4 separate regions of the Homo sapiens genome follow, and all the other regions are linked to region 1. Evidence: promoter capture Hi-C in 16 types of primary human blood cells and fetal thymus (Javierre and others, 2016). All regions are on one chromosome and are shown on one strand. Each heading gives the region's core, a stretch centred on a gene start or on the middle of the fragment in contact. The rest is flanking DNA. Distances are from core to core; before and after follow the strand shown.

Region 1 (5,696 bases), core at 2,013-4,512:
AGATCACCATAACAGATATAGTAATAATTAAAACATCTGAAATATTTCAAGAATTACCAAAATGTAGCACAGAGACACTAAGTGCACACATGCTATTGGACAAATAGCACGAAAAGACTTGCTGGACACAGGGTTACTGAGCACTTGCAATGTGCAAAAACGCAGTATCTATGAAGTGTGATAAAGTGAAGCACAATAAAATGATCCCTGTAATCACTAGAAGGAAGGTGAGAAAAAAAGTGAGGGTGGCTATGAGGTCATTCACATGGAAAGACCTACCGTAATGGCAGAATTTGGAGGGGTAAGAAAATTGTGAGTCGTATGTCTGAGTTCTTAATGAATATGAGAGAGTGCCAATAAATCACAGCAATCAAGAAATATACAGGCTGGGCGCGGTGGCTCACACCTGTAATCCCAGCACTTTGGGAGGCAGAGGCAGGCGGATCACCTGAGGTCAGGAGTTCAAGACAAGCCTGGCCAACATGGTGAAACCCCGTCTCTACAAAAATACAAAAAGTACCTGGGCATGGTGGCACATGCCTGTAATCCCAGCTACTTGGGAGGCTAAGGCAGGAGAATCGCTTGAACTTAGGAGGTAGAAGTTGCAGTGAGCCGAGATTGCACCATTGCACTCCAGCCTGAGCGACACGAGCAAAACTCCATCTCAAAAAAAAAAAGAAAGAAAGAAAGAAAGAAAGAAATATACAGGCTGATAATATAAGTGAACCACAAACTTTCCACAGGAACTGAGATTTTTTTTAAAACCTGGAGGACTAATGGATTATAAACTGTGCTGGGGAATAAGGACAATGCAAACTCTCTCCCCAGGCCGATCATATTATAGGAGAATGAGTTTCCCATGTTTGAAGATGACTATGAGTATTGTAGGGGAAGATGGCTGAAAACAGAAGTGTGGATACTATGGAACAGAAGTTAAAAGGCACACAGTGAGGACAACCTGAGAAAATACAGATCATTAGGAAAGACTCACAAGATATCAGTGTAAGACAAGATAAAAAGAAGTCTTGTATTTATGATTATCCCTAATGGTAACAAGAATGATGACCACGTTTTCCGGTTTCAAGATTCCAAATGAAACTTTCTTTATTCATAAGGTGAGGCACCAGGCACTGTGGGAACCCTACTCATACTAAAGGACACCTAGTGTGTTTACTGGAGGTAAACTACAATAAAAATCATTGATCAAAAGAAAAAAAAGTAAAAAAAAAAACCGTTGATCAGATCTGTAGATTACATGAGGGGCTGTGATAGGGTGGGAAGGAAAGGAAAAAGTGAGAAACAGACCCACACATCTTTTAAAATTAATAGGTCATTCAGATTCCAATTACCCTCCCCATCTTCCAACCCAAACCACTGTTATAAATGCTGGGGACAAGTATAAGTTATGGCCCAAGGTGGTGGCTCTCAACCATATGTGAAAAAACCACGCCACTATTGCCTCAGGTGTTTGAGCCATTCTCCTCCACAGATCCCTTGAGACCTAGAGATCAGGGGCTGCAGAGGTCAGGACAGACTGAGGTTATGAGGGTGTGGGAGGCCTGATGCCACTAGCAATCGACAAGTTTAACCTGAAAGAGGGAGACAAAAATACAGTCCTCTCAGACAAAAAAAGGAGTTAATATTGAGTGAAACATACAGGCAAGTTCAGGGATGGAGGGAAAGGAAAATGAGGAATTTCATGCCCCAAGCTTCACATTTCTCCAGCAAACAGCGGCTAGTCATCTGCTCAAAGTAAAAGGAAAATAACAGATCTGAGTTCTTGAGAAAAAGGGAAAAGACTAAAATAGTCACTGTGGAGATAAGGAAAAGCAACAAAGGAAAAATAGAGATACCAAACAGTAGTATCAAGGGCCCACTACTGTGTAAAAGCATGAATCTGTTATCAAGGCCATTAGCAAAGTTTTATATTTTCTTCAAAAGTGTCTGGAAACCACAGAGTACAGTCAATTTCATACACGATATGTGCTACAAGAGAGTAAACAAAGGATGCCATGACATCAGAGAAGAGACACTTGAGGCTTTCTGGAGGACTTAAGCTTTGAAGAAAACTTAGCCAGGCTTAAAAAGGTATGTGAATCCTAGAGCATGCAAAGCACTTTCTGCATTAGAAAATTTAACATTCCCAGTTGTTTCAGATATCTTAAGCCGAACGAGTTTATTGTTCCTCTATGACTATCTGAACATGAAATTAAAACTTCTTATGAAGGAGGCTTTCCTGAGTCTAGTTAGAAGCACGAGGCTTCAACATCCTAGACTTAACATTTTTTTACCAGAGTAAGAAACCATGAGAGTAAACCACAATCCACACCGGTTTCATGTTAAACTCATGAAACCAGACAAATTCAACCTTTTATATAGGATTATATTTCAGGAATGGCATAACGATTCTAAACAACGACGCTGTATTCTAAATTCCTGTACTGTTACAAAGATCCCTATAGTAGGCGCTCAACAACTGGCGACGGCTTCACATTTACCCAGCCGCCAGAGAGGGCTTGTCTTGAGTGTGTCTGAGGATGCAGCACCCAAAGGGAAAAACCACTACATGAACAAGATCAGGAAATCACAACAGCATCCTTCTGGGTAAAAGGAGGTATTCAGAGGTGAGGAATCCAAGAAACGATTTACCCAAAAACGCCACCGCAAGAGAAAAACCAGTATTAGTGACTTTCCCTTCATCGGTCAACAATAATAAAAACGCTCAGAAAGGCTGCCCCGGACGTCACCTGCGCGTTCACGGACCGCCCCGGGCCGCAGACACCTCTCCAGCGGGGAGCGGCCGGCTCGTCCCGCCCGTCCCACCGCTCAGGGAAGGTTGCGGCCGCGCAGCTCCGCGAAGGTGCCACGGCGGGCCCGACCCTCAGACTCGCTTGTCCCTGGAGACCAACCCTAGCGACCAGGCTCTGCCGGATCCCGTCGGGTTTCAACTCCTATTCCGAAGGTCCTTTCTCCCCTAATCACAACACCCACTCGCCTCTTTTTCCTCCTCTTCCTCAGCTTCCACCGCCGACCGGGCAGCCCCAGTTACCCGATAACGGCTCCCAAGGCCCCGTGTTTACATTCTTTCCCACTGGAAGCAGAAATTATCACGCCCAAATTCCTACCTGCCTTCCCTGGATTCCTGGTTTCCTAAGAAACGGGTTTGGCCCACCCCTGGGCGTTCGAACAGTCCACAGAAGCGGGCAAAGGAAAGACGACTCAGTCTTTCCCCTCCGCCAATCTCTTCTCCGGGACCACAAATCCCAGAAGTCACCGCGGCCGCCCCCACTGCATGACCTTCTGGGATTTGTAGTAGTCAGGGCCACGCGGCTGGGCGCGCCCTCTAGCAGCAGCCCTGAGTGACCGCAGCGCACGAGCGCGGGAAAATGAGGCTGCGCGGGCTGAAGAGCGCACCGAGAGGAGCCGCCCCCGCGGTACCGCGCAGCCTCGCGTCCCGTCAGTGGGGAACAAGGTGAGGGGAAAACTTATTTTACGGGATTCAAAGGATTAGGATATGCTCCTTCCCCGAAGGGGTTTATAGCCTAGCTGATGAGGTCGGCCAGACGCAGAGAACAGAGAGGCAAAATTCGGTTATAAAGGGCTCGAGGCGGCCGGGCGGGGAGGCTAGTCAGGGAGGCTCGAGGCTGAACTGCAGGCTTCACGTTAAAGTTACAAGTGAGTTGGACCCAGAAGGCAGAATTACAGCCAGAACGTAGCTGTGCATCATGTCTTGAAAATAAACGAGCACATGTAATAAAGGTAATCAAGATTGTTAATTTCTCCAACTCTCCTGCCCAAAAGACTCATTTTTGGAAGTCATACTTTCTCAGCCTCAGCACCATTAACATTTCAAACTGGATAATGCTTTGTTGGGGGACGGGGTGTTCTGTGCATTGTAGGGTGCTTAGCAGCATCTCTGGTCTCTGTCCACGGGATGTCACCACCAGTCGATTGTGACAGCCAATGGTTTCCCCAGTGAAATTTCCCCTGGAAGAAAAACTATCCCTCCCACCCTGCCCCGTTGAGAACCACTGATGTCGACCAACGATTGTCCTGAGGGTCAATGACACCCTTTCAAAGCCAAAATTATTTTCATACTAATATGAAGACGTGATTTGCCCTTTGCACAATGCTGACATTTGCACTGATGGTGGAAAAGCAATGGTAGGTCAAGGTGCTGGCCCCTCCACAGGAATTACAGTAATGACACCAAACCGTACTGGAGCTCTTCACCACCACACGCTCACAGTAAGAAAAATGGGCCGGGCGCGGTGGTTCACGCCTGTAATCTTAGCACTTTGGGAGGTCAGGAGTTCGAGACCAGCCTGGCCAACATGGCGAAACCCCATCTCTACCAAAAATACAAAAATTAGCCAGGCCTGGCGGCACGCACCTGAATCCCAACTACTCGGGAGGCTGGGGTGGGAGGATCCCTTGAGCCTGGGAGGTCGAGGCTGCAGTGAGCCGAGGTCATGCCACTGCATTCCAGCCTGGATGACAGAGCAAGGCACGGTCTCAAAAAAAAAAAAAAAAATGGAAAAATGAACGCTGTCACCAGAGAATATCCCTGATGAAGTTGTAAAAGTTACTTTATTATAACCACTCCGACACTTAATATTCTTTGTAAAAACTTGGAAGTCCTCACAAAGTACTTCTGCTGCATATTGAAGTATGACGTATCAAAGAAGAGCTACTGTGAGATGGCATTATAAACTGAAGTAAATACTTTTTTTTCCTGGAACACAAATTTTACTAAGATGAGTGACAAACCGGTTATTCGGACTTGGGTATTTGACAAACCTTTCTTGAAAATGAACAAAGGGAATCTGTAACTTCAAGAAAAACAAGGAAAGGGAAAGGGGAAGGGGAAAGGAAAGGAAAAAAGAGAAATAGGGAGGGAGGGAGGAAAGAAAAAAAAATTGAGTTTGTTGCCAATGATAAAATTCAAGATTTTAGGCAAAAAAAAAATATGATTTTGGAAAAATGGTATTCACCATAATGATCTTGGCAGCTTCCCAGTATCTCCAGAATTTTCTGATATAAGTGATTATCAGTTGTGACTTTTATTTACATTGTTTGCTTAAATACATCAATATTTGTGCAGGCTGCATAAGTGAACCAGTAGTATTTGAAAACGATCAATGCATGACTGCGGTAGCCAGCCTCCAAGATGGCATTCACTCCTGGCATTCACATCCTTATGCACTGCCTTCCTATATTGTACCACGGTTGGTCTGTGTTACCTACAGAAGAGGGCAGAAGTGACCGTTTATCACTTCCGATATTAATTATGAAAGACACTAAGATGGTGGCAATGTTTCTTAATCTGCCTAGAGGTTTACATGGTCATGTTTCCTGTGTACCTGAAATACTGAAAACTCATTAAGCCAAATACTCATTTGTGCACTTTTCTGTATATATGTCTATGAAAGTCTTAAATAAGAAAACATGTACCTCCCTAACAAGACATGCAGAGGGAAGATTTATCTTATGGTCACATTCATAGTGTCATTAGTTCATAGTAGCCAATAAGAAGGAATAGAGGTTGCAGAGTGAGTAAATGGTACTTGAAGCTGTGCCCCCTACCTAGGGGTCTTTGCTAAATCTCTCAAGTAACCTAACCCTGATCTCCTCTACTGTGTTTAAGGGTAGCTCCCACTAAGTTTTTATACTTCACCCACTACTTCTCTACTAAC
Region 2 (5,475 bases), core at 933-3,432, 1.0 Mb before region 1:
GAGAATGTTATATAATTGGCTTGATCTTCTGTCAAGAACATTGAAACTTTCTGCATGTCAGTAATAAGGCTGTTTCACTTTCTTATCATTTGTGTGTTCATTCAAGTAGCACTTTAAATTTCTGCCAATAACTTTTGATTTGTATTCACAGCTTGGCTAACTGTTTGGAGCAAGAGGCCTGGCTTACAACCTGTCTTGGCTTTTGACATGCCTTCCTCACTACGCTTAATCATTTATAGCTTTTTACTTAAAGTGAGAGATACGTGACTCTTCCTTTCACTCGAACACTTAGAGGCCATTGTAGGATTATTAATTGGCCTAATTTCAATACTGTTGTATCTCAGGGAATAGGGAGAATCTTAGAGAAGCATAGAGATAGGGGAATGACTGGTCTGTGGAGCAGTAAGAACACATACATGTATTAATTAAGTTTGCTTTCTTATATGGGAGTGGTTTGTAGTGCCCTCAAACAATTACAATAGTAACTTTAAGATCACTGGTTACAGATCGCTATAAGAAATACAACAATAATAATTAAGCTTGAAACATTGCAAGAATTACCAAAATGTGACACAGAGATACAGAGTGTACAAATGCCGTCTCTGTGTCGCATTGGGAAATGACACTGATAAACTGATAAAATTGCTCAGCACAGACTTGCCACAAACCAGTTTGCAAAAAATGCAGTATCTATGAAGTGCAATAAAGTGAAGTACCATAAAGTGAGATATTCCTGTAAGTATCCTTTGTTTTCACCTATACCACACGTTTCCCCATATGAACATCATTGCATAGATTTCTATTGTCCATATCAGTAATAATTTCTTAATGAGGGATTACTAGAAGTAAAAATACTTTATCAAATTCACGTTACTTATCTTAAAAATCTTGATACATAATAGAAAATTACCTCCCTGAAAGTATTTATCTATTTACACTCTTGGCAGCATTTCATCAGAATTCAGGTTCACAGTTTCTTCACCATTTTGTTCTTTGAAAATTTGATAGGCCAAAATCTGGTATGTCATTATTTTATTATGAATTTATTTGATTACTTGTGAGATCAAATATGTTTTCTTGTTTAACAACCAGTTTTATTTCTTCTGTTTTTTTGCTGTAATCTATTTAACTGAATCCACATGTTCTGTCCTTTTGGCTAATAGATATTTAAAATAATTATTTTTTAACAAAGAATAAGTATGCTAAACATTATTATATGAGTTTTGAATATTTTACTAGTTTGTCTTTTAAAGTAGCTTCTAATTTTTAACACTAAAACAATTTTGACTTTATATGTAGTCAAGTGTATAACTTTTTGTATAATTTTTAGTATTGGGGGATTTAATTTGGCTTAAAATTTTAATATTTAATCCATTTATAGTTTATTTCAATGTAGTTGTAAAGGGAGATCTAATTTTATTGTGTGTGCATGTAGACATACATATATATATTTAAAATTTATTTATTTTTTAAAATAGAAAACCTTTCCAAAAATGTCTAAAAGGAACTTATTTGTTCCACACTAAATTATTTTATTCTTTACACTAGCTATGTTGACTTTTTTTCATGCCTTACAGCTAGAACTTCTAAAATTATATTACTAATACTATTTACAAGAATCCTTATTCCCCATTGATTTTAATAGAAACACCTCTGTTACTATGCAATACTTAATTATTCCATCATAGTCTATAATTTGATTTGTTATTCTCTTTTTAATCCAAAATTTACTATGGAATACTTTTAATTTCTAAATTGTAATGTATGTATAGTGGTGAATGAGACTTAGTGGTTGTGCTTTTGTTATTTATTTTTAACTGAAATATATTTTGTATGTATTTGTCGGAAAATAGATAATTGTAAATTTGACATTTTACAATTTTTTGAGATATTCTTTGTGATTCAGTGTGTATATTTTTCTCCGTATGCCAATGGATACTTAAAAATGTGGATAATAAAGTTAAATTTACAGTTAATAGTATTACAAATTATTTTATATGTACTTTTTGTGTCCTTGATTAATAGTTTTTAAGAGGTGTATGTTATAATTATAGGTGCAAAAAAGCTCATAGTGGAACATGTCAATGCAATATAGCCACTAATTTAATGACTCTTACCTTGGATTCTGTGTTAATGTTTAGTAGAACTGCACTGTTCCTATTTGAGTTTCTCAGATGTATTTTAATCCACCTATTTACTTTAACATTTTATTACTATTTTGATTTAGGTATATTTCTTAAACTTTTGAGCTTTATTATTAATTCAATATGAGGTGTTTTTTTTTTGTTTTTTTTTTGAGACGGAATCTCGCACTTTTGCCCAGGCTGGAGTGCAGTGGCGCGGTCTTGGCCCACCGCAAGCTCGGCCTCCAAGGCTCATGCCGTTCTCCTGCCTCAGCCTCCCAAGTAGCTGGGACTACAGGCGCCCGCCCCCATGCCTGGCGAATTTTTTTGTATTTTTAGTAGAGACGGGGTTTCACTGTGTTAGCCAGGCTTGTGTCGATCTCCTGACCTCGTGATCCACCCGCCTCAGCCGCCCAAAGTGCTGGGATTACAGGCGTGAGCCACTGTGCCCGGCCCGAGATCTATTTTTAATAAGATATTTAATCTATATTAATTTCATAGCAAATTAGCATGCTCAAAATGAAATTCCTCCTTATGAATTTTCATTCTCCAGGAATTTTCATCTCAATAAATGACAGTGACGTTAATCCAAATTCCAGGGTACTCATCACTATTTCTCTCCCTTTAATACTTTGATAATTCAGTTCTGGCTGGGCGTGTTGGCTCACCCAGCCACCACTTTGAAAGGCCGAGGTGGGCAGATCACATGAGGTCGGGAGTTCACGACCAGCCTGACCAACATGGAAAAACCCCATCTCTACTAAAAATACAAAATTAGCTGGGCATGGTGGCACATGCCTGTAATCCCAGCTACTCGGAAGGCTGAGGCAGGAGAATCGCTTGAACCCGGGAGGCGGAGGTTGCGGTGAGCTGAGATCGTGCCATTGCACCCCAGCCTGGGCAACAAGAGCGAAACTCCGTCTCAAAAAACGAAACAAAACAAAAAAAAGAAAAAAGAAAAAAAAGGAAAAAAAAAGAAAATTCAGTTCATCTGCAAATCATGTTGACTATATCTCAAAAGTGAATTTCAATTCTGCCTCTGCCCATCTCCCTTGCCTAATAATACATCATTATTTCTCACTTAACACTTTCACAATGCTTCCTCTATTGCCTCCTGTAATGGATTCTTCATGTTGGAGCCAGAGTTATATCTTAAAGTCTTTAATCCATTTTAAAAATGTAACTCAGACTCTAAAATTCTTATGCTTTAAACTTTTCTATGAATTCTTTTATTTTGACCTAAATGCAAACTTTTTTTTTTTTTTTTTTTTTTTTGCATAGCTACTTTTGTATTCCTTCTCAACCTCAATTCTCTTTCTCAGTTGCTTCTGTCCACCCACACTGGTCTTTTATCTTTAAGCCAGCCAAGTTCATTCATACTTTAGGACCTTCATATGTACTTTTCATCTGCTTAAAATGTTCTTCAACCCAGCTTTTGGCATCTCAGCTCCCCTTTCGTATGTCATGCTTCATTTCACATGCCTTGGCCTGTGAGCCTTTCTCCAACTATTCTATGTAGATAAATCGCTCACTACCTCACCCAGTTACTCTAACACAATCATATTCAAACTGTAGAAGATATTCCCAGGGATATTCCAGCAATGATAGATTTAAGGAAATCTATCAATTCAATTAACTTCCATATATTTCACCATACCAGGTTATATGAAAAATCACTTGGTTGCCAAGAAAAAAAACAAAAGAAAGCTTTTTGTAATGTTTAAACAAGACACATGCATCTTGAAGGCCTCTTCTCTTATAAATAGTTTTCTTAATGGTGAAATATAGCATCGACAGAAGGGCATTTTGGCTCTGTTAGGAAAAGTTTTGAATTTAATCAAATGGTGGAGTGGACAGGTATAAGTAATCATTTAAAAAATCAAAGAGTGCATCATTCTTAAAAGAGGATACCAAGAGCAAAAGTAAGATAGCATAAAAGAGAGACATTGAATGCACACAAAATTTTAAAAAACATATTTAAAGTCAAGCAATTATCTTCAGAAATTCTTAATATTGTATTCATCTTTAAAATATTTTATCTTAGAAATTATCTTTAGAGTATTAAAGCAGCATTAGTTATTATGTTAATTCATATAGTTAGTCTCTCACTAGATATTCTTGAAGACTATCAAAATTTTCAATATACATTGGATAAAATCCAAGGATAAAACTTACATGTAATTTCTTTTAGCATTAGTGCATATTAACCAATAAGGTAAATAAAGCTGACCTAGTCAAATCATATCTTGATGTATTGTTTTAATTATAATGAATGTTCATCTTATGTCATAAAATATTTAATATTGTCTACCTTCTATTTAACAAAAAAGAAGTTACATGAGACGATGTATTTTTCTGTTATGTTCTATTATTACATACTAACATACACTTCTAATATTACATATTAGTACATAGGAAAAGTTTTATCATGATGTTTTATGCAATTATTGGAGTTATTACTGATTTTTATCAGTAAAAATTTTTGTCACTAAAAATATAAATTTTTACTTGTTTATGCCCATAAACCAAACATTAAAATTTTATATTGTACTCATGTTTATTAAAGATGTAACATATTTTTTATCATTCTCTATTATAAATAATAATTATACTTACTGAGACTGCATTATAAATTGAGCATGTAAAACAGAATAATATCTTGTTTTTATAATTTATAAAATTTGATAAATTTATTAAATTATTTCTACATCTCTAATCTTGACTGCTTTTTGGTAATATATCTTTTATGACATACTACAATTCCTTTCTTAGTGTTTTTATGGGACTTCTTGAGATAGACATCTTAGTAACACTTATCAGAAATTAAAAATAAATTCATTATCTAAAATTCAGTAAGACTAATCTGTATGTTTGGAACACAATGAGGATTTGATACACCAATTTAAATAATAGGAAAAATATTTTTTGTAAGTAGAATATGCTAACGCTGAAGCACCAAGATTTTAATTAAAATATATTTTACATACATATTATTTTATGAGAAATACTACACTGGTAAATATGTAATACATGCAAACATTTTGATTTTCAGAAGTGTTCTGAGCTTATTAGGTTAAATATGGAAATAAGCAATCCATAGAATTAATAGTCATTTGATAATTCTTAAAATGTCCATTATAGAAACTGAAAGCATGAATACCATAGTCATCCATCATCAACAAATATTTTTAATAATATATCATCTGAGAATTCAATTAGGTTTTCCTTCAGTGTCATTTTTGGCATGCAATTCAAAGACATTCGAATAAATAAATGAATTTGCTATAATACAACTCTTTCAATTACCATATAATTATTTTTGTCAACATGATTTCTCAAAGCTTATAGATAT
Region 3 (5,223 bases), core at 2,180-4,679, 1.1 Mb before region 1:
TATTTCTTGTAGTTCTGGAGGCTGGAAAGTCCAAGGTAGATGGACCACATCTGATGACGGCCTTCTTGCTGAGTCATCCCAGGGCAGAAGGCAGAAGGGCAAGAAAGCATAAGAGCAAGAACAAGCACACTCTCGCGATAACTAACCCACTCCGTGATTACAACATTATGAAGGAGTCATAATTGCCTCTTATTGGGCTCCAGCCCCCAATATTGTTGCATTTTGGATTAAGTTTTCAACGTAAGAACTTTGGGTGACACATTTAAACCATAGCACCTGAGGAAGAGAGCATTGGTTGCTTCTGAGTTTTGGCAATTATGAATAAAATTGTTATACATATCGGTGTGTAGGTTTTTGTGTAGACATGTTTTCAACTGATTTGGGTAAATGCCAAGGAGCACAACTGCTGAATTATATGGTAAGAGTATGCTTAGCTTTGTAAGAAACTGCCAAACTATATTGCAAAATGGCTGTGTCATTTTGCATTCACACCAGCAACAGATGATACTTTCTGTTGCTCCACATCCTCATCAGCATTCGGTGTTTTCAGTGTTCTGGATTTTCACCATTCTAATAAGTGTGTAGTGATATCTCACTTAGTTTTGATTTAATTCCCTAATGGCATATGATGATGAGCATCTTTTAATATGCGTTTTTGGGCCATTCATGAATCTTTTTTTGGTGAAGTATCTGTTCACAGCTTCTGCCCATTTCATAATTGGGTTGTTCATTTTCTTATTGTTGAGCTTTAAGAGTTCATTATATACTTTGGAAAACAGTCCTGTATCAGACATGTCTTTTGCAAATATTTTCTTTCAGCCTCTGACTTGTCTTCTCATTCTCTGGAGTGTATGTTTTTGTTTGCTTTGCCTGCTATGTCATAAATCTGACATTATTTAAATATCTCCTTCCATCCTGACTGTTTACTTAATGTTGACTGTGATAATTTTTTAATTCATGTTTACTTTAAGAGGCATTTGAAAGAAGCTCCTGATAAGTTCAGATACTGTTTAATATAATGTTAATGCAAAATTTTCAGTTTATGTAGGTGACAAGGAGTCAAATGTAACAGAGTCACACTGTAATGAATGTTGGGTGGTCACAAAAGGTTTATGTATCAGGCAGTGACTCATTTTGGCACACCAAAGCAAAATTCAAATGGTTACCTCAGCAAAATGACAAAGCACTGCATGCCATGGACTTTCTGGGTTGCTTATGAATAGCTGAAACACGAAATGTTAAGTACACAAATGGTGAGAAAACACTATATTTCAAGTAAAGAAACAAATGTATTTAATCACGTTTGCCAATGTCTGATTTTCTTCTTAAAGTTTTATAACCTGGAGTTTGTGGAGCCTTGGGGGATGAATAAATACAGGAGTAATGCTCTTCAAATGAGCTATTGTAAAGGACTATTGTATTTTTCAATTGGTTGTGGATTGATACATTTGTCTCATAGATAGTTCCCTCTATTAATATGGATATATATGTTATAATATACGTCAGTGGAATGTTTCTCAGCTTTTCAAACCATTTTATTGGCTGTTTTCTCTTGTCTATGGGTACTCGTAGAGAATGCTATTGAAGTTGGTATTCATATTTTAATGGGAGGAAATAATCCCAAGCTGCAGACACAAATTCAGTTCCAAACCCCAGACAGTGGATGGGCTATGCTTATCAAAGCAGACAGAATGCATATAGTAGTAATGAGAGAAATCTGAACATAGGACTGAAATATATACGTAAACCACCAGTGTTAAACTTGATTTCAGTATAACTGAAAGGACTCCAATCTGACCTCCAGAGACCTGACATGAGCTATCATGATATGAAGTCAAAATCTTTCACCCAAAATCCAGACCTAGCATCCCTTCAATTAGAAAGAAGTTGAGCAGGATGGATCATTCACTTCATAAGTACTTTCTGTAAATTTTCTTTGTACTATTCTCTAATGCATCCATTTATCAGAGTAAACACGCACTGGGAAAAGGAACCTACCTTTGGGTTGAATTGGTCACAGACTCTTAATCAATTCTGGTTCCTGAGACCTAGAACAACACAGCCAATCAGGAAAAGTGGAGCCTTGTGAAGTGAGCTGATAGATGTAGGTTAGATCTAATTCTATTTCACAGTAAGCCCAGTAGAATACTGAGTCCATCTCCAAGTCTGCTTGAAACATATTATATATCCTTAGTAGGTAGAATAATCCTGGCCTGAGTTCCTGGCACTGTGGAGTGCCATGATAGTCTTGACAGGATGTCTCCAAACCCTTGAATGTGAGAGAGTAATGAGTTACTAACTTGCTTGAGAAAAATTTATTTTAGGTTTTCCTTTACAGTCAAAACAGATGTCAAATAATGTATCACTTAATATCCTTCCAGTTCTTTTTTTGTGTTAGTTGTTTTTGTTGTTTATTCTTAAAAAACTTAAATGGCTCACACCTGTAATCCCAGCACTTTGGGAGGCCGAGGCAGGAGGATCACCTGAGGTTGGGAGGTCGAGACCAGCCTGACCAACATGGAGAAACCTTGTCTCTACTAAAAATACAAAATTAGCCAGGTGTGGTGGCGCATGCCGGTAATCCCAGCTACTCGGGAGGCTGAGGCAGAAGAATTGCTTGAACCCAGGAGGCAGAGAATGTAGCGAGCCGAGATTGCTCCATTGCCAGACTGGGCAACAAGAGCAAAACTCTGTCTCAAAAACAAAAAACAAAAAAACACTTAAATGGAACACATTTACATGATCTCACTTAATCCTCAAAAATACCAAGATTTTGGCATTACTATTTTCATTTTATAACTTAAGAAACTGGGACTCAGAAAGGTTAAGATATTGCGAAATATCGCAGGAGAGTAAGTGGTATATCCGGAGTTGGAAGCTTCAACTGTTTAATGACAAGGCCAATTCTCTTGGTGCTCATAAAGTGTTACCTCTTAAATCGAGAGTTCTCTGTCTTATGAGGTTTTTTTGTTTTGTTTTGTTTTGTAATTTTTTGTGAAATAAGGAATGAGGTCATTTCCTAAGAGTAATGGGGATGATGCTAGGCTAGTAGAGCGTGAAGAAGAATATTTGAAGTAGAAGTGGAAAGAGTCTTGTAACTGAAAGTGTGGTTATCAGTCAAGTAAATTTGGCATCCCTTTGTAGTAGCTTGATAGAAATGCAGATCTCAGGCCCCCTCCCAGACCTTCTGAATCCAATCTGCATTTATTTATTAATTTTTTTTTTTTTTTTGAGATGGAGTCTCACTCCGTCGCCCAGGCTGGAGTGCAGTGGTGTGATCTCAGCTCACTGCAAGCACCGCCTCCCGGGTTCACGCCATTCTCCTGCTTCAGCCTCCCAAGTAGCTGGGACTACAGGCACCCACCACCATGCCCGGCTAATTTTTTTAGTAGAGACAGGGTTTCACCATGTTAGCCAGGATGGGCTCGATCTCCTGAACTCGTGATCTGCCCGCCTCAGCCTCCCAAAGTGCTGGGATTACCAATCTGCATTTTTAAATATCCACAGGTGATTTGCATGTTCATTAAAGTTTTAGAAGCACTGGGCCAAGCAGAACTACTGTCAGGCAGCATTGAAGGGCCAGTTTAGATGGAGACTATACATTTATAAGCATCAATATTAATTATATCAATGACAAAGCCGAAATCCTACAAAAATGTTAGATCCTTGCTTTCTCAGCCTCCTTTGCATTTGTATCAAGAGCTTATGATCCAAACCTGGCCACTGAAACCCTAGGGGAAATGCCCTGTAGGAATTTTGGAAGAGATTTTCACCTTATTCAAACAGATGAATAGGAGCAAACTCCTGTCTTTTTGTCTGAATATTGTCATAACTGCTTGTGATACATAGAACAGTAGCAGTCACTTTGCAATATTGAAGGCATGAGCCCAAATCAAGCCAAGATAACAATTGATTAACCAACCCTAGAAGCACTATTCCTTTGGACTTCTTGTTATAAGAGATAGTAAACATTCTTATTCAAAGCTTTTCACTTGTATTTTTCATTGCTTGCAGGTAAGAGTATCCTAAGTTAAAAAAAATTATGGTTTTTCTCCTAAAATCCTCACAACATTATATTACAACAAAATGAGGCAAATTACAGAATTACTGGCTGAAAATTTGTAGGGTGAACGTGTCTAAATAAAAGCATTTGAAGGTTTAGGCAAATGTTTTTGCCTATACCTTCAGATTTGCACCTTCAGATACCTATAGATTTGCACCATGGGGTTGACACTTGGCAAGGATGGGATGTGACAATAGCCAGGATGGTGTTAACAGAATAATCAAACACAGAAGGTCAACATTTAATGAGATTAAAATGTTGTTACATTGGGATTGAGAGAGGAGGAAGTAGAGTCAGAAAGAAGATATTAGAATATAAGATTTCAGAGGTGAAGCAAGTAATGTTGCTGCCCTGGATGAGGGTGGATGATATAAAATAAATGTGAATATGATTGGAGTTTAGGAAGTCAAAGAAGCATAAAACTAGCTTGTTGGATGATACAACCAACCACACGGACATTGGAGAGACTTGGAATTATGACAGTTCTTGAGGTAGAGGCAGGACTTAAGGAATATGGACATGCTCGGGACATTGGAGAACAACTAAATTGAGAAAGGTCTCACAGAGGAGGGCACTTTTGGCTTGCACTGTGTAGAATGGGAATAGTCTATACAGTAGAGAGAAATGCAATCGTAGGCGTGCTTGGCAGAGGGAGCGATATGTGCAAAGCTCCTAGACAGGAAAAACCGTTTGAGGAATGGTGGGTAGTTCTTTGCTGCTGGAGCAGAGAAGGAAATAAGTTTTGGGTCAACTTGTGAAGAATTTATAAGTTACAAAAGCAAATTTGGATATATTCTGATCAATACTTATTGCTGATGATAGTTATCTAACCTCAAGGGAATTTAAAAGCTTTTATTCCTTTTTTTTTTTTTTTTTTTTTTTTTTTTTTTTGAGACGGAGTCTCGCTCTGTCGTCCAGGCTGGAGTGCAGTGGCGCAATCTTGGCTCACTGCAAGCTTCACCTCCCAAGTTCATGCCATTCTCCATTCTCCTGCCTCAGCCTCCGGAGTAGCTAGGACTACAAGAGGCCGCCACCACGCCAGGCTAATTTTTTTGTATTTTTAGTAGAGACGGGGTTTCACCGTGTTAGCCAGGATGGTCTCGATCTCCTGATCTTGTGATCCGCCCGCCTCGGCCTCCCAAAGTAGCTTTTATTCTTTT
Region 4 (5,484 bases), core at 2,118-4,617, 1.0 Mb before region 1:
GAGTTCTCAGAAGATTTTCTTTCTACTTTTCCCAGAGCCTGCTCACCATTTGGTGTAGGGATATAGAGGAAACACGTTTGATAGGAAATTTACAACTTGCTACTAAAATATGCTTCTGTTCCTAGAATTATGCCAAGTGAATGGAACAGATTGTCATTTACTAATGTAACTAATGTAACCCTGAGTTCTGGTATGTCTCTGCCAGGATAATTTGAGGAAGGGAAAGTTGGGGATACTCACCTTTGATTTTGTTTGAGCTTCATATTTTCTTTCTCAAGAAAATTTAATGAAACAGATTTTACTGAACAGCACCTGGCACTTCCTACTTGTATAAACTTTTAACCTAACATTACAGAAATCAAAAAGTTTTCATTAACAGTGAATAAAATTATAATTATATAAAATTATAATTCTGTTTAAAAATTTCAACTAATGCCTTTCATTGCTAAAATCTTTCCTAAAATTAAGCAAAATCAGACTAGCTATGAATATTCTTCAATATTGCTTTCAATATGTCCTAAGGACTCAACTGCTTTCTTATTCTTTTGTATTACCTTCTCTTCTAGACATTTGAAGTTCCCTTGAGCTCTCCAAAATTTAACTAATAAATAAGATACAGTGTCCCCAATTTCCTTAGTATTTGTGGTCCACAAGAATAATCAGGAAGGTTTCTAATAATTCCAAACAATCAGAAAAACAATTACAAAATTGCACACATTTATAAACTGCATAACAAACATAAAATTACAAAACTTTCAAATTTCTTACAATGGTAGTTTTTAACTTCCATCTATATTGGTAACTGAAACTCCCATGGACTTCTATTTTGATTTTTTTAATCTTTGGGGTAGAATTTCCCAAAACACTCATTTACCTCAGATTTTGTCCTTCCTTGCTGACAAATAGAACAAGTGAAAAAAGACTAAGCATCATCTTGGCTCTGAAGACAAATTAGAATTTTCAAGACCACCAAGTTCATTAATAAGTTAGCCTCATAATTGTAATGTTTACTATTGCATGATACTATATGCCAATAGGTGTTGGCCTTGCTCAAGAAAAGTCTTCTTCTTCTTCTTCTTCTTCTTTTTTTTTTTTTTTGAGACAGGGTCTCACTCTGTGGCCCAGGCTTGAGTGCAGTGGTGAGATCTTGGCTCACTGCAACCTCTACCTCCCAGGTTCAAGTGATTCTCATACCTCAGCTTCCTGAGTAGCTGGGACTACAGGCACGTGCCATCACACTCGGCTAATTTTTGTATTTTTAGTAGAGACAGGGTTTCACCATGTTGGCCAGGCTGGTCTCAATTTCCTGACTTCAGGTGATCCATCTGCCTTGGCCTCCCAAAGTGTCGGGATTACAGGCATGAGCCATCATGCCCAACCAATAGAAATCTGTGGTGCATTTCTTCATAAAGCTCACAGTGGCTGAAGGCTGAAAAGTCCCCCGAGGCATAAAGAAGCAAAACATGGCAATAAAGGGTTTTTTTCTTCTTTTATATCTAGACACAAGCACTGGCCACAAGGATTATTTGATGGCATCAAACCTCAAGTCTGCATTCCTGGGGCCATGTTTACTATTCTTTCCTTAGACTATCTTAATGTGAGTTGGGGTAGGTAATGGGAGAACAGACTTTTTTATCTCCCTCGGGGAGTAATGTTTTTCCTAAAAAGGGCTCATAAATCAGATCAAGGACAGGTTAAAGAGAAACAGATCATAGCAATCTCTCAGGGCTGCACAACAAACTTTATCAGTTGTAGCTTTCAATTCCATGAGGTGCTCTTGCTATCTAAAAACGAAGTGAGAAATTGCATCTTGCTGTTTACAACAGAAATGGAATCATTTTTCACAACCTGACCTTTATGCCAGGTGCTTTTTCATCAGAAAATATGTCAGTGAGAAAGGGGAAAGGGAATGAATGGTGGAGCTTCATATGAAATCTGAAATTAAATCTATTTCAAGATAGTCATCTTGAAATCGGTGAAGTATCTTGTTTCCACAAAATCAAACAGAGTATCTAAAACATTTTATTTCATATTTGACTACATTTTGTACATAATGTAACTGGGTTTTGAATTTATAGGAAAGAGGCTCCTTTCTCATTTGGAACACAGAGAACTTTAGTTTCTGATAAGCCAACTGAATTTGATTTCACTGGAGAGTTGGTTTGAGGAAAACATGCAAGAACAGAAAAACTAGTCTATAGGAATAACACATTAGTGAATAACAAAATGTTTACAATGAAAATAATCTGTGGTAAAAGATGTTGCTCCAGCCTAGGCAACACAGTGAGATCCCACCTCTATAAAACCGAAACTGTTAGCCAGGCATGATGGCATATACCTGCAGTCCCAGCTACCAGGGAGACTGACAGAAGAAGATCACTTGAAATGGGGAGGTCGAGGCTGCAGTGAGCTGTGGTCAAGTCACTGCACTCCAGGCTGGGTGATAGAGCAAGGCTTTGTCTCAAAAAAAAATTGTTGCTGTTATTTCTGTCACTTCAAAATTTAGAGAAGTTATTCAGTACAGAGTGCCATTCAAAAAGTAAAAATGTGTATCCTAAAGGAGCAAACAAGTCAGTGTTTTTTTAAATTACATTTTTTTTTCTTAAATTACCAAAAGAGTAAAGCTCAGCTTCAATCACACCAATTTACAATTATAGGAAGGATGAAAATTTCCCCAAATGTCCCTTTTAACAACATCTCCAAGGAAACCACTGCTAGTACTTTGGCATATTTGCTCCATGATTTTCCTGTGCGTTTTCTAACTGTCTCTCTCTCTCTTTCTCATACTTTTACCTTATATAGTCCTATACTGTTTCAATGTTATAACTAGGTATTTTTTTAAATAAAAAGATATAAATATATGGACTTTTTTCATTACCTCTGCAAATAATGGTATTACAAACAAAAAGTCAGAAACATCAATAACTTTAAGTAAGACCTTTAAAAGGCCATGCCTATACAGCTAGCTGACCACCCTTAGGTCCATGAATTTTAACACCTTTTTCTACCTGGGACATAAAAAATTGAAAGAGGTTGAAAAGCAGGTACCTTAACCTCATTTCTTGGGAAGGGAATACATTACTGAAACTCATAAAATTTTTCTTTGAAATTTTTCTTTACAAAGGCCGGGCGCGGTGGCTCACGCCTGTAATTCCAGCACTTTGGGAGGCCGAGGCGGGCGGATCACGAGGTCAGGAGATTGAGACCATCCTGGCCAACATGGTGAAACCCCGTCTGTACTAAAAATACAAAAATTAGCCGGGTGAGGTGGCACGCACCTGTAATCGCAGCTATTTGGGAGGCTGAGGCAGGAGAATCGCTTGAACCCGGGAGTCGGAGGTTGCAGTGAACCAAGATCGTCACTGCACTCCAGCCTGGTGACAGAACAAGACTCCATCTCAAAAACAAAGAAATAAATAAAGAAAAAATAAGAAATTTTTCTTTACAAAATTTGGACAGGAACTCATACTCTTATGTCTGTAAGAGTGGATACATGCCGTATCTATTTTAATCTATGGATTTTCAGAGGAGTTGCTTTCCTGGGGTGGGGGAAAGAGACCGCAACTCACATTAACATACTAAGAAATGGTATACAAAACATGTCTGATCAACTTGAGTGACCCCAACAGTGCCCAGAGCACAGAAAAGGACAATAGGACCCCAAATGGGAGGAAGAGTCTAGAATTGTGAGTCCCCAATTTGCAATGGGTCCTGTTGGTATGAGAACATAACTGATTTTGAAACTTATCCCAGTAGGGTACTGTGGGGGTGTTTGCATGGCCTGGGACTTAGTGGCTAAGAATGTGAGCATAGAAAAAGCTACAACATTTTCAGGTTCATGCAACCTTTGCTGTGGGGTATCCCCTGGCTGAGCAGAATAGATATATGAACACAATAGATATGCGGCAAATATTCATCTCACCACATGTAATACTGATGCCTGGGTAAATGAGGACTTCACCACAGAAGCAGAGGTGACAGTTGTGGTGGTAATTCAAGGTCAAGGAAACTGGCAACTCACTTAAGCTGCCTCTCTCAGTGGGTGTCTGGGGCCATGAGAATCTGTCATGTCTAGTTGTGTGGCAAATGGGAAAATCTCTTATCATTAACTACCAAGAGATTTTAAGGTACGTATGTCTTTTGCTGTGGGGCCTTTCCCCAAATTGAGCATCATCTCGAAAGAGTGGTGATGTTAGTAATGGTTCAGGAGTAGATTTCAGGTCCAAGTTGGTGCCGTGGCAAAGAAGTCAAAAGAGACTGGGAACATCATCAGTAGCAAAAGGGGCAAAAGGCCAGAGAACTGATCAGATAAGGTTTATGCGCATCCTTGGGAAACCTCAGATACATGCATTTAAAGAGATGCTCTCAATCAATAGACAAGTAGGGATTGGTAGCATCAAGATTTGAGTACTAACAGATATTAATGTTAATATTCATACATTGTATTCACCTTATTGTAAGTGTGTTGCTGAAGCAAATGTCTCTCACATTACCTAAGATCAGCCTTGAACAAGTTTTTCAGAGAAAATGAATTTATTTTTCAAGTCATTGTAGCTACTCTTAGTTTATGTATATTATCAGATAATGATTTGCAGCTTTTAAATGACTTAGAAAACTAAAACTTATTTTCTAAAGTCATAAAACTTTATTTTCAAAGAATTTGAAGTTCAAATTTGAATGAGATTATTATCAAAATAACGCGTTCTTTAGCTTTTTCCTTTATAAAATATTTATAAAATATTGTCAGGGTTTTTGTTTGCTTGCTTTTCTTTTTGCTACGGAAGTACTAGTTAAATATCCTTTATCCAAAATGCTTGGGATCAGAAGTATTCGCCATTTCTTTTTTGGAGGGATTTTGGAATATTTTCATTACTGATTGAGCATTCCTAATCTGAAAATCTGAAGTCTGAAAATCTCCAGTGAGTATTTACTTTGGGCATGATGCCAGCACTCAAAGTTTCACATTTAGGGGCATTTTGGATTTCAGATTTTTAAATTAGGAATGCTCAACCTGTAATACTTGCTTGGCTTTGAAAAATGTAAAGGTCAAGGAACGCATAAAAAAGAAGTGTCATCCTTAATTCTACTAATTCCTTCAAAAATATGCATAGCTAGTGATCAGGATGTGTCAAACAAGGGGATTCTTTTACTTCTACCTTTGTTCTTGGTCCATCTAAGGAAGTAATTAATACCCCAAATTCCTATGTCAGATACTTCGTTAAAGAAATTAACTTGACTATTCATAATCTCTCAAAAGGCAATGCCTGTGAGAATTATTCTTTCTATTTTTTGATCTGGAGGGGTTGTTTGCACAGTCATATGGTGCAGTAATATAAGCAGTAGGATGTCACCGAAATGTACAAAATTAAATATCAATGATATTGGTAGCTAACACATTTTGTACTTAGTATGTGTCAGGCTCTATTATTAGAACTTTGTATGTATTATATTACAAATGCCTCACAAAAACTCTGTGAGCAGATA

Evidence for each region. Contacts are between HindIII fragments. The CHiCAGO score rates a contact against its expected background, and 5 or more counts as called.
Region 2: a fragment that was not itself captured here is called in contact with the fragment with the promoter of TTC33 in region 1 in 7 of 17 cell types (M2 macrophages, monocytes, naive CD4 T cells and 4 more); the score reaches 8.7 in M2 macrophages.
Region 3: a fragment that was not itself captured here is called in contact with the fragment with the promoter of TTC33 in region 1 in 5 of 17 cell types (M1 macrophages, M0 macrophages, M2 macrophages and 2 more); the score reaches 11.2 in M1 macrophages.
Region 4: a contact is called between a fragment that was not itself captured here and the fragment with the promoter of TTC33 in region 1, in 5 of 17 cell types (M0 macrophages, monocytes, activated CD4 T cells and 2 more). The highest score is 12.9, in M0 macrophages.

Annotation. Positions count from the first base shown.
Region 1 is chr5:40,752,699-40,758,394 of GRCh38, forward strand. It overlaps TTC33 (tetratricopeptide repeat domain 33), which reads right to left and starts at 3,263. Exons shown (of 5, transcript NM_012382.3): 1 at 3,126-3,263. RefSeq lists an enhancer at 3,137-3,286. The HindIII fragment of the contact is 9,414 bases long and covers 2,056-5,696 here.
Region 2 is chr5:39,722,315-39,727,789 of GRCh38, forward strand. No RefSeq gene overlaps it. Among named protein-coding and RNA genes, the nearest start is that of LINC02104, 200 kb to the left of the region's middle. The HindIII fragment of the contact is 3,291 bases long and covers 538-3,828 here.
Region 3 is chr5:39,605,260-39,610,482 of GRCh38, forward strand. No RefSeq gene overlaps it. Among named protein-coding and RNA genes, the nearest start is that of LINC02104, 87 kb to the left of the region's middle. RefSeq lists a silencer at 3,222-3,403. The HindIII fragment of the contact is 1,106 bases long and covers 2,877-3,982 here.
Region 4 is chr5:39,703,736-39,709,219 of GRCh38, forward strand. No RefSeq gene overlaps it. Among named protein-coding and RNA genes, the nearest start is that of LINC02104, 190 kb to the left of the region's middle. The HindIII fragment of the contact is 8,483 bases long and covers 1-5,484 here.